Regions from separate parts of the Homo sapiens genome. Here regions 2 and 3 are each linked to region 1. The links are contacts of gene promoters, found by promoter capture Hi-C in human tissues and cell types (Jung and others, 2019). All regions are on one chromosome and are shown on one strand. The core of a region is centred on a gene start or on the middle of the fragment in contact, and the rest is flanking DNA. Distances in the headings are between cores, read along the strand shown.

What was found. Contacts are between HindIII fragments. The study calls those that stand out against the background at their distance.
Region 2: a contact is called between the fragment with the promoter of ZNF813 here and a fragment that was not itself captured in region 1, in 7 of the 25 tissues and cell types used here (H1 embryonic stem cells, adrenal gland, heart right ventricle and 4 more).
Region 3: the fragment with the promoter of ZNF525 here is called in contact with a fragment that was not itself captured in region 1 in 2 of the 25 tissues and cell types used here (aorta and mesenchymal stem cells).

Annotation. Positions count from the first base shown.
Region 1 is chr19:53,409,119-53,411,644 of GRCh38, reverse strand. The region is part of intron 3 of ZNF765-ZNF761 (ZNF765-ZNF761 readthrough); the gene reads right to left. It overlaps ZNF765 (zinc finger protein 765), which reads right to left. Exons shown (of 4, transcript NM_001040185.3): 4 at 1-2,526. The coding sequence ends at 2,518. It also overlaps the pseudogene LOC124904793. Among named protein-coding and RNA genes, the nearest start is that of ZNF765-ZNF761, 15 kb to the right of the region's middle. The HindIII fragment of the contact is 3,821 bases long and covers 1-2,526 here.
Region 2 is chr19:53,466,470-53,468,995 of GRCh38, reverse strand. It overlaps ZNF813 (zinc finger protein 813), which reads right to left and starts at 1,263. Exons shown (of 4, transcript NM_001004301.4): 1 at 1,207-1,263. RefSeq lists enhancers at 1-481, 482-1,043, 980-1,219 and a silencer at 1,290-1,419. The HindIII fragment of the contact is 7,979 bases long and covers 1-2,526 here.
Region 3 is chr19:53,364,429-53,366,954 of GRCh38, reverse strand. It overlaps ZNF525 (zinc finger protein 525), which reads right to left and starts at 1,250. Exons shown (of 4, transcript NM_001348156.2): 1 at 1,196-1,250. RefSeq lists silencers at 853-912, 1,313-1,362 and an enhancer at 953-1,202. The HindIII fragment of the contact is 12,378 bases long and covers 1-2,526 here.

The DNA of each region.
Region 1 (2,526 bases), core at 1-2,500:
AACCCAATGTGATTTAGATTCAACACGGTACCCATAAAAATCCTTATCACTGGGGCTGGGCGCAGTGGCTCACGCCTGTAATCCCAGCACTTTGGGAGGCCGAGGTGGGTGGATCATCTGAGGCTGGGAGTTCAAGACCAGCCTAACCAACATGGAGAAACCCCATCTCTACTAAAAATACAAAATTAGCTGGGCGTGGTGGCTCATGCCTGTAATCCTAGCTACTCTGGAGGCTGAGGCAGGAGAATTGCTTGAACCTGGGAGGCGGAGGTTGTAGTGAGCTGGGATCGCTCCATTGCAGTCCAGCCTGGGCAACAAGAGTGAAACTCCATCTCAAAAAAAAAAAAAAAAATCCCTATCAGTTTTTGTTAAAGAAACAAAAAACAGGCTGGGAAAATGGCTCACGTCTGTTGGCCAGGCTGACCTCAAACTCCTGAACTCAAGTGATCTACCGGTGCTGGCCTCCCAAAGCGCTCAGATTACAGGTGTGAGCCACTGTGCCTGGCCCAGTCCTCTTAACATAAACACTTTAATGTCAATTAAGGCTTCAACTCAATGTTAAGTCAAACTCAAGTCAATGCTGAACTGACTCTAGTGTCAATTAATGCTTGATGGTTTGCTATACACATTGTATTTGGAACAACTATCTCCAAAATGAATTTTCTGATATCCTGCAAGGAGTGAGCTCAGACTGAAGACTTTGGCACACTGATGACATTTATAAGATTTCTGTCCAGTATGCATTCTCTGATGTCTAGTGAGGTGTGAATGTGAATTAAAGGCTTTGCCGCAATCATCACACTTGTGAGGTTTCTCTCCTGTATGAATTCTCCTATGTTTTGCATAGAATGAAGCTTGACTGAGACCTTGTCACAATCATGACATTTGTAAGGTTTCTCTCCAGTACGAGTTCGCCGATGAACTGCAAGTTATGAACAATGTCTGAAAAATTTGCCAAATTTATTAAACTAGTATGATCTCTCTTCATTATGGATTCTCCAATGATTCGCAATGGTTGTAGTGTAACTGAAGACTTTGTGACAATCATTACATAAGTAAAGTTTCCCTACACCATGGATTGCCTGATGGTAAACAAGTGTTGACTGCCCACTAAAGACCTGTCACATTCATTATACTTGTAAGCTTTCTCTCCAATGTGAATTCTAGGATGTTGTGCCAGGTGCGAATTATGCCTGAAAGCCTTGTCACAAACTCTTACATTTTTATGCTATCTCTCCAGTAGGAATTCTCCTGTGTCTTTCAAGGTTTGAGTGTGACTGAAAACTTGGTGACATTCTTCACATATGTAAGCTTTCTCTCCAGTATGAATTCTCCTGTCTTTGGAGGCTTGATTTGCGACTGTAAACTTTGTCACATGCTTCACATTTGTAACGTTTATCTCCAGTATGAATTCTATGATGATGTGCAAGCTTTGCTTTTTGATTTAAAACCTTGCCACGTTCATTACACTGCTAAGGTTTCTCTCTAGTATGAATTCTATGACTATCAAGGTTTGATTTGAATCTGAAAGCTTCATCACATTCTTCACATTTGTAAGGTTTCTAATACGACTTCACCCATGAACTGCAAAGGTATGAAGGATGTCTGAAAAATTTTCTGCATTTATTCTGCATTTATCACACTTGTAGGATCTCTCTTCATTATGGATTCTCCAATGATTTGCAATAGTTGTAGCATTACTCAAGACTTGGTGACAATCATTACATTTGTAAAATGCTGACTGCCCATGAAAGGTTTTTCTACACTCATTATCCTTGTAAGGTACCTCTCCAGTATGAAGTCTACGATGGTGCGTAAGGTATGACTTCAGACTAAAGGTCTTGCCACACTCACTACACTTTTAAGGTATCTCTCCAGTATGAAGTCTATGATGGCATGTAAGGTATGAGTTCTGACTAAAGGTCTTGCCACACTCATTACATTTGTAAGGTATCCTCCAGTATGAAGTCTACGATGGCGTGTAAGGTATGAGTTCTGACTAAAGGTCTTGCCACACTCATTACACTTGTATGGTTTCTCTCCAGTATGAATTCTCCTTTGTCTTTCAAGGTTTGATTTGAAATGGAAAACTCAAATTCTTCACATTTGTAAGGTTTCTCTCCAGTACGAAGTCTACAATGGCATGTAAGGGATGAGGTCTGGCTGAAGGTCTTGCCACACTCATTACACCTGTAAGGTTTCTCACCAGTGTGAATTCTCCTATGTCTTTCAAGGTTGGATTTGAAACAGAAAGCTTCTTCACATTCTTCACATTTGTAAGGTCTCTCCACTATGAAGTTTATGATGGTACACAAAAGATGACGTATGACTCAAGGTCTTGCCACACTCATTACACTTGTAAGATTCTCTTCAGTACGAATTTTCTGATGTATTTCAAGGTTTGATTTGAAATTGTAAGCTTTGTCAAGTTCTTCATATTTGTAAGGTTTCTCTCCACTATGAAGCCTACGATGGCATGTAAGGGTTAACTCCTGATTGAAGGTCTTACCACACTCATTACACGTG
Region 2 (2,526 bases), core at 14-2,513, 57 kb before region 1:
GTATTGTCCAAGTTTCCCCCCACTGAGACAGCCTGAGATATGGCCTCGTGGGAAAGGAAAGACCTTACATCCCCCAGCCGGACACCCGTAAAGAGTCTGTGCTGAGGAGGAGTAGTGAAAGAGGAAGGCCTCTTTGCAGTTGAGATAAGAGGAAGACTTCTGTCTCCTGCTGGTCCCTGGGAATGGAATGTCTAGGTGTAAAGCTGACCATTTCCATTCGTTCTATTCTGAGATAGGAGAAAACCGCCCTGTGGCTGGAGGCGAGATATGCTGGCAGCAATACTGCTCTGTGACTCTTTGCTACACTGAGATGTTTGGGTGAAGAGAAACATAAATCTAGCCTACGTGCACATCTGGGCACAGTACCTTTCCTTGAACTTATTCATGATATAGATTCCTTTGCTCACATGTTTTCTTGCTGACCTCTCCCCACCTGTTGCCCTGCTACACTCCCCTCACTAGGACAGTAAAAATAATGATCAATAAATACTGAGGGAACTCAGAGGCTGGCACTGGTGCCGGTCCTCCGTATGCTGAGCGCCGGTCCCCTGGGCCCACTGTCCTTTCTCTATACTTTGTCTTTGTGTCTTATTTCTTTTCTCAGTCTCTCTTCCCACCTGACGAGAAATACCCACAGGTGTGGAAGGGCTGGCCTCCTTCAACAGGACAAGCCCCGGGCACCTCCCCAACGTGGGCTCAGGGGAAGCCGTGACTGCGGAGGGGAGACCTAGGAAGCAGCAGGGCCCGGCAGGAGGAGGGAGGTGGGGGGGGGGGGGCGCGAGGGCGCCTTAAGACAAGGGTGGGGTCTGCAGGATCCCGGGACCAGACAGAGGACGCGGCCTTCCCGGGACTGGGGCCGCGGTTCTGCGCTCCACCGGCCGAAGTGGGCGAGAATCCACCCCTTGGGTGAGGACTTCAAAAAGCGCGGGGTGGGAGGAGTCAGAGAAAGGTTTAGAGCAGGAAAAATGCGCGATAGAAAGTGTATACATTGCCCTATAGCAGAAAGACCCGGGACGGGACCAGCCTCAGGGCGACCTTAAACACAAAAGGAAGCGACCCCCGGACTCTCACGGGGTCGTCTCAATTTGCTCTGGGTGAAGGAAGACGGCTGAGAATTTCCAGGTTTGTGGGGACCCCACGCCCCAGGTACAGAAGCGCCAGGGACCTGGGAAGTGCAGACCTAATACAACACAGAGCCAAACTCACGCGCTGCCGTGGGACCGTCACTCCACGCGATCCGCTTCCGGGTTTTCGCGAATCTGCGCGCAGGACAGAAGCCAGGCCTGGGCGGGACCTGGGAGGTGGGCGGGGCCTGACGAAGCAGGGGCGGGGCGAGAGGCGGAGAGACTTTGCCCTTTGGAAGGCGCAGAGGGCGGGGCCGGGGTGGGACCTGTGAGTCCGTCACCCTCGCTCCAGCGCCTGTTTTAGGGTTTTGGAGTCGAGACCGGCCAGTAAGGTTGAGGCACTATTCAAAAGCCCTGGAATTGTCTGGAACGGGGATGCAAACTAGAATGTGAAATGCAAAGCCCTGCCTGGGCGGAAGGTACGATTTCATGCTGACGGCCCACAAAACAAAATAGAAATCCTCCCCCTTTCTATTCTCCATTCACTCAGGAGGGCAAGTCCACCCCGTGCTCAACTTCAGAGATTTCCCTAAAGCCACCGCCATGGATGCGGGACGGAGTGCTCAGGCCAGGGAGGAGTGAGGTGACCACCTGCTGGATGGGGCGCCGGGGTGGGAGGGATGCGCGCGCGGGGGCAGGAGCCTGAGGTCCCAGCTACTCAGGAAGCAGCGGCGGGAGGATCGCTGAGCCTGGGGGTCCAGGCCAGCCTGAGCGACAAAGTAACACCCCCTCCCGCAGCGCTTCCTTCCTCGTCTCTTTTTTTCCTTTTTTTTTTTTAATGTTTTAAAATACAATTTTGATTGTGTGAGATAGGGATCCAACAGTATTCTTTTCCATCTGGATATTCAGTTAGTTGTCTCAGCACGTTTGTGGAAGAGATTTATTACTTTATTTATTTACTTATTTCTTTTGAGACAGAGTATTTCTCTGTCGCCCAGGCTAGAGGGCAGTAACGGGATCTCGGTTCACTGCAGCCTCTTCCCTCTTGGGTTCAAGCGATTCCCCTGCCTCAGCCTCCGGAGTACCTGCCATTACATTCGCGTGCCACCATGCCTGGCTAATTTTTGTATTTTTGTAGACGGGTTTCACCATGTTGGCCAGGCTGGTCTCAAACTCTTGACTTCAAGTGATCCGCCTGCCTCGGCCTCCCAAAGTGCTGGCATTACAGGCGTGAGCCACTGCACCTGGCCCAACAAATACTTTTTACTTCACTTTCCAATTGTTGAGAAAACATAATTGAAAACAAACAAAAAGTCTTCCCCCCAATGAGAAATCATCTCCACGACGACAATAGAGAAAGAAATTAAAACCATTTCATTAATAAATAAGCCTTAGGCCAGATTATGATGCGAAATAGACAAACAGCTAAGAGGTTGAAAAGAGAGAAAGAAACTTCACTGTT
Region 3 (2,526 bases), core at 1-2,500, 45 kb after region 1:
CTTTTTAGATGTAAATCTGCTGAGCCGCTGTGTACCTTAAATAAACATCCTCCTGTCTCCCCCATATCAGTCTCTCTAGTCCTCAGTTTCCCGCAACACCATCTCTGCGCCTCCTCTGCTCTCCCCGTTAAATTCTCTCTTCTCTGTTATACCCCCTGTCCCCACTCTCTGGCACCCCAGATCCCCAGGTGTCCTCCCTGCTGTGGTTCTCCCTCTGTTCTCTTTGCCACCAGCACCACTCTGCTCTGTCTGCCCTGGCTCCAAATCCCTCCTCCTCTCCCTCACCCTGATGAGCCTCCCTCTTTGCTGTCCCTCTCCCTACCTTGCTGTCCTTCATCTCTCTGTACATCTAGCTTTTCTCTACATTTCTCTAGTTGCTTTTCTCCTCCTGCTTATCTTTTTTTTTTTTTTTTTCACTTTTGCTGTCTCTTGGCAAATCCCTCACCCATCCTCTACTTTGCCATCTGTTATGGGCCTTTCTCATTCTTCTTTTCTCTGTCTCAGGTTTTCTACTGCTGTCTGTCTCCCGATCCCTTTGGCCCACACAATCACAGGAGGGTTTGGAGTAAGACGCCTGCATCCCGGAGGAGCTTATTTTCCAGGGGCTGGAACTGGGCAGGCAAGAACACCCCGTGTCACAGGACAGAACCCGGGCACCTCCCCTAACGCAGGCTCAGGGCAAGCTGTGACTGCGGATGGGAGACCTGGGGAGCAGCAGGGCCCGGCATGAGGAGGGACGTGGGGGGCGACGGCGCCTTAAGACAAGGGTGGGGTTTGTAGGATCCCAGGACAGGCAGAGAACTCGGCCTCCCCGGGACCGGAGCTGCGACGCTGCGCTCTAGGGGCCGACGAGGGCGAGGCTGGGAGGCGCCCAGGGCGGGAATTCACCTCTCGGGTGAGGACTTTAAAAAGCGCGGGGCGGGAGGAGTCAGAAAAAGGTTTAGAGCAGGAAAACTACGCGATAGAAAGTGTATATATTGCCCTATAGCAGAAAGATCCGGAACGGGACCAGCCTCAGGGAGACTTTAAACCCAAAAGGAAGTGACCCCCGGGCTCTCACGGGGACGTCTCAATTTGCTCTGGGCGAAGGAAGACGGGTGAGAATTTCCAGGTCTGTAGGGACCCCACGTCCCAGGGACAGAAGCGCCGGGGACCTGGGAAGAGCAGACTTCATACAAGATGGAGCGAAACTCACGCGCCGCTGAGGGACCTTCACTCCACGCGATCTGCTTCCGGGTTTGCGCGCGTCTGAGCGGGGAAGGACAGAAGCCAGGCCTGGGCGGGGCCTGCGAGGAGGTGGGCGGGGCCTGGGCCAGGTAGGGGTAGAGGCGGAGAGACCTTGCCCTTTAGTACCGGCAGAGGGCGGGGCGGGGCTGGGCTGGGGCGGGATCTGTGCGTCTCTCAGCCTCCCTCCCACCGCCTCTGTTTTTGGGTTTTGGAGGCGAGATGGCCAGGAAGGCCGATCCATGATTCAAAAGCCCTGGAATTGTCTGAAACGCGGATGCAAAGTAGAATGTGAAATGCAAAGCCCTGCTTGGGCAGAACTTACAATGTCATGCTGACGGCCCAGAGAATAGAATAGAAATCCTCTCCCTTTCTATTCTCCATTCACTCCGGAGGGAGAGTCCACCCTGTGCTCAGCTGCAGAGACTTCCCTAAAGCCACCGCCTGGGATGCTGGACGGAGTGCTCAGGCCAGCGAGGAGTGAGGTCACCACCTGCCGGATAAACACAGCAAGGATGCGGACGCGGGCGCGGGAGCCTGAGGTCCCATCTACTCAGGAAGCAGGGCGGGAGGATCGCTGAACCTGGGGGTCCAGGCCAGCCTGGGCGACAAAGTAACACCCCCTCCCGCAGGGCTCCCTTCCTCGTTTCTCTCTTTCTCTCTTTATTTTTCGTTGTTTTTTTTTTACGTTTTAAAATAAGAGGTTGATTGTATGAGATAGGGATCCAACATTGTTCTTTTCCATGTGGATATCCAGTTAGTTGTCCATTCCACATTTGTGGAAGAGATCTGTTACTTTCTTTTATGTATTTACTTATTTCTTTTCTTTTGTTTTGAGACAGAGTATTTCTCTGTCATCCAGGCTGCAGTGCAGTGGTGGGATCTCGACTCACTGCAAGCCTCTGCTTCCTGGGTTCAAGTGATTCCCCTGCCTCAGCCTGAAGGGGGCCTGCCCCTCCACACCTGCGGGTGTTTCTCATCAGGTGGAGATGAGAAACTGAGAAAAGAAATAAGACACAGAGACAAAGTATAGAGAAACAGCAGTGGGCCCAGACAACCGGAGCTCAGTGTGCGAGTACCCGCACCGGCGCTGGTCTCTGAGTTCCCTCAGTATTTATTGATCACTATTTTTACTATCTTTGTGAGGGGAGTGTGGCAGGGCAACAGGGTGATGGTGGCGAGAAGGTCAGCAGGGAAACGTGAGCAAAGGAATCTGTGTCATGAATAAGTTCAAGGAAAGGTACTGTGCCTGGATGTGCACGTAGGCTAGATTTATGTTTCTCTTCACACAAACATCTCAGT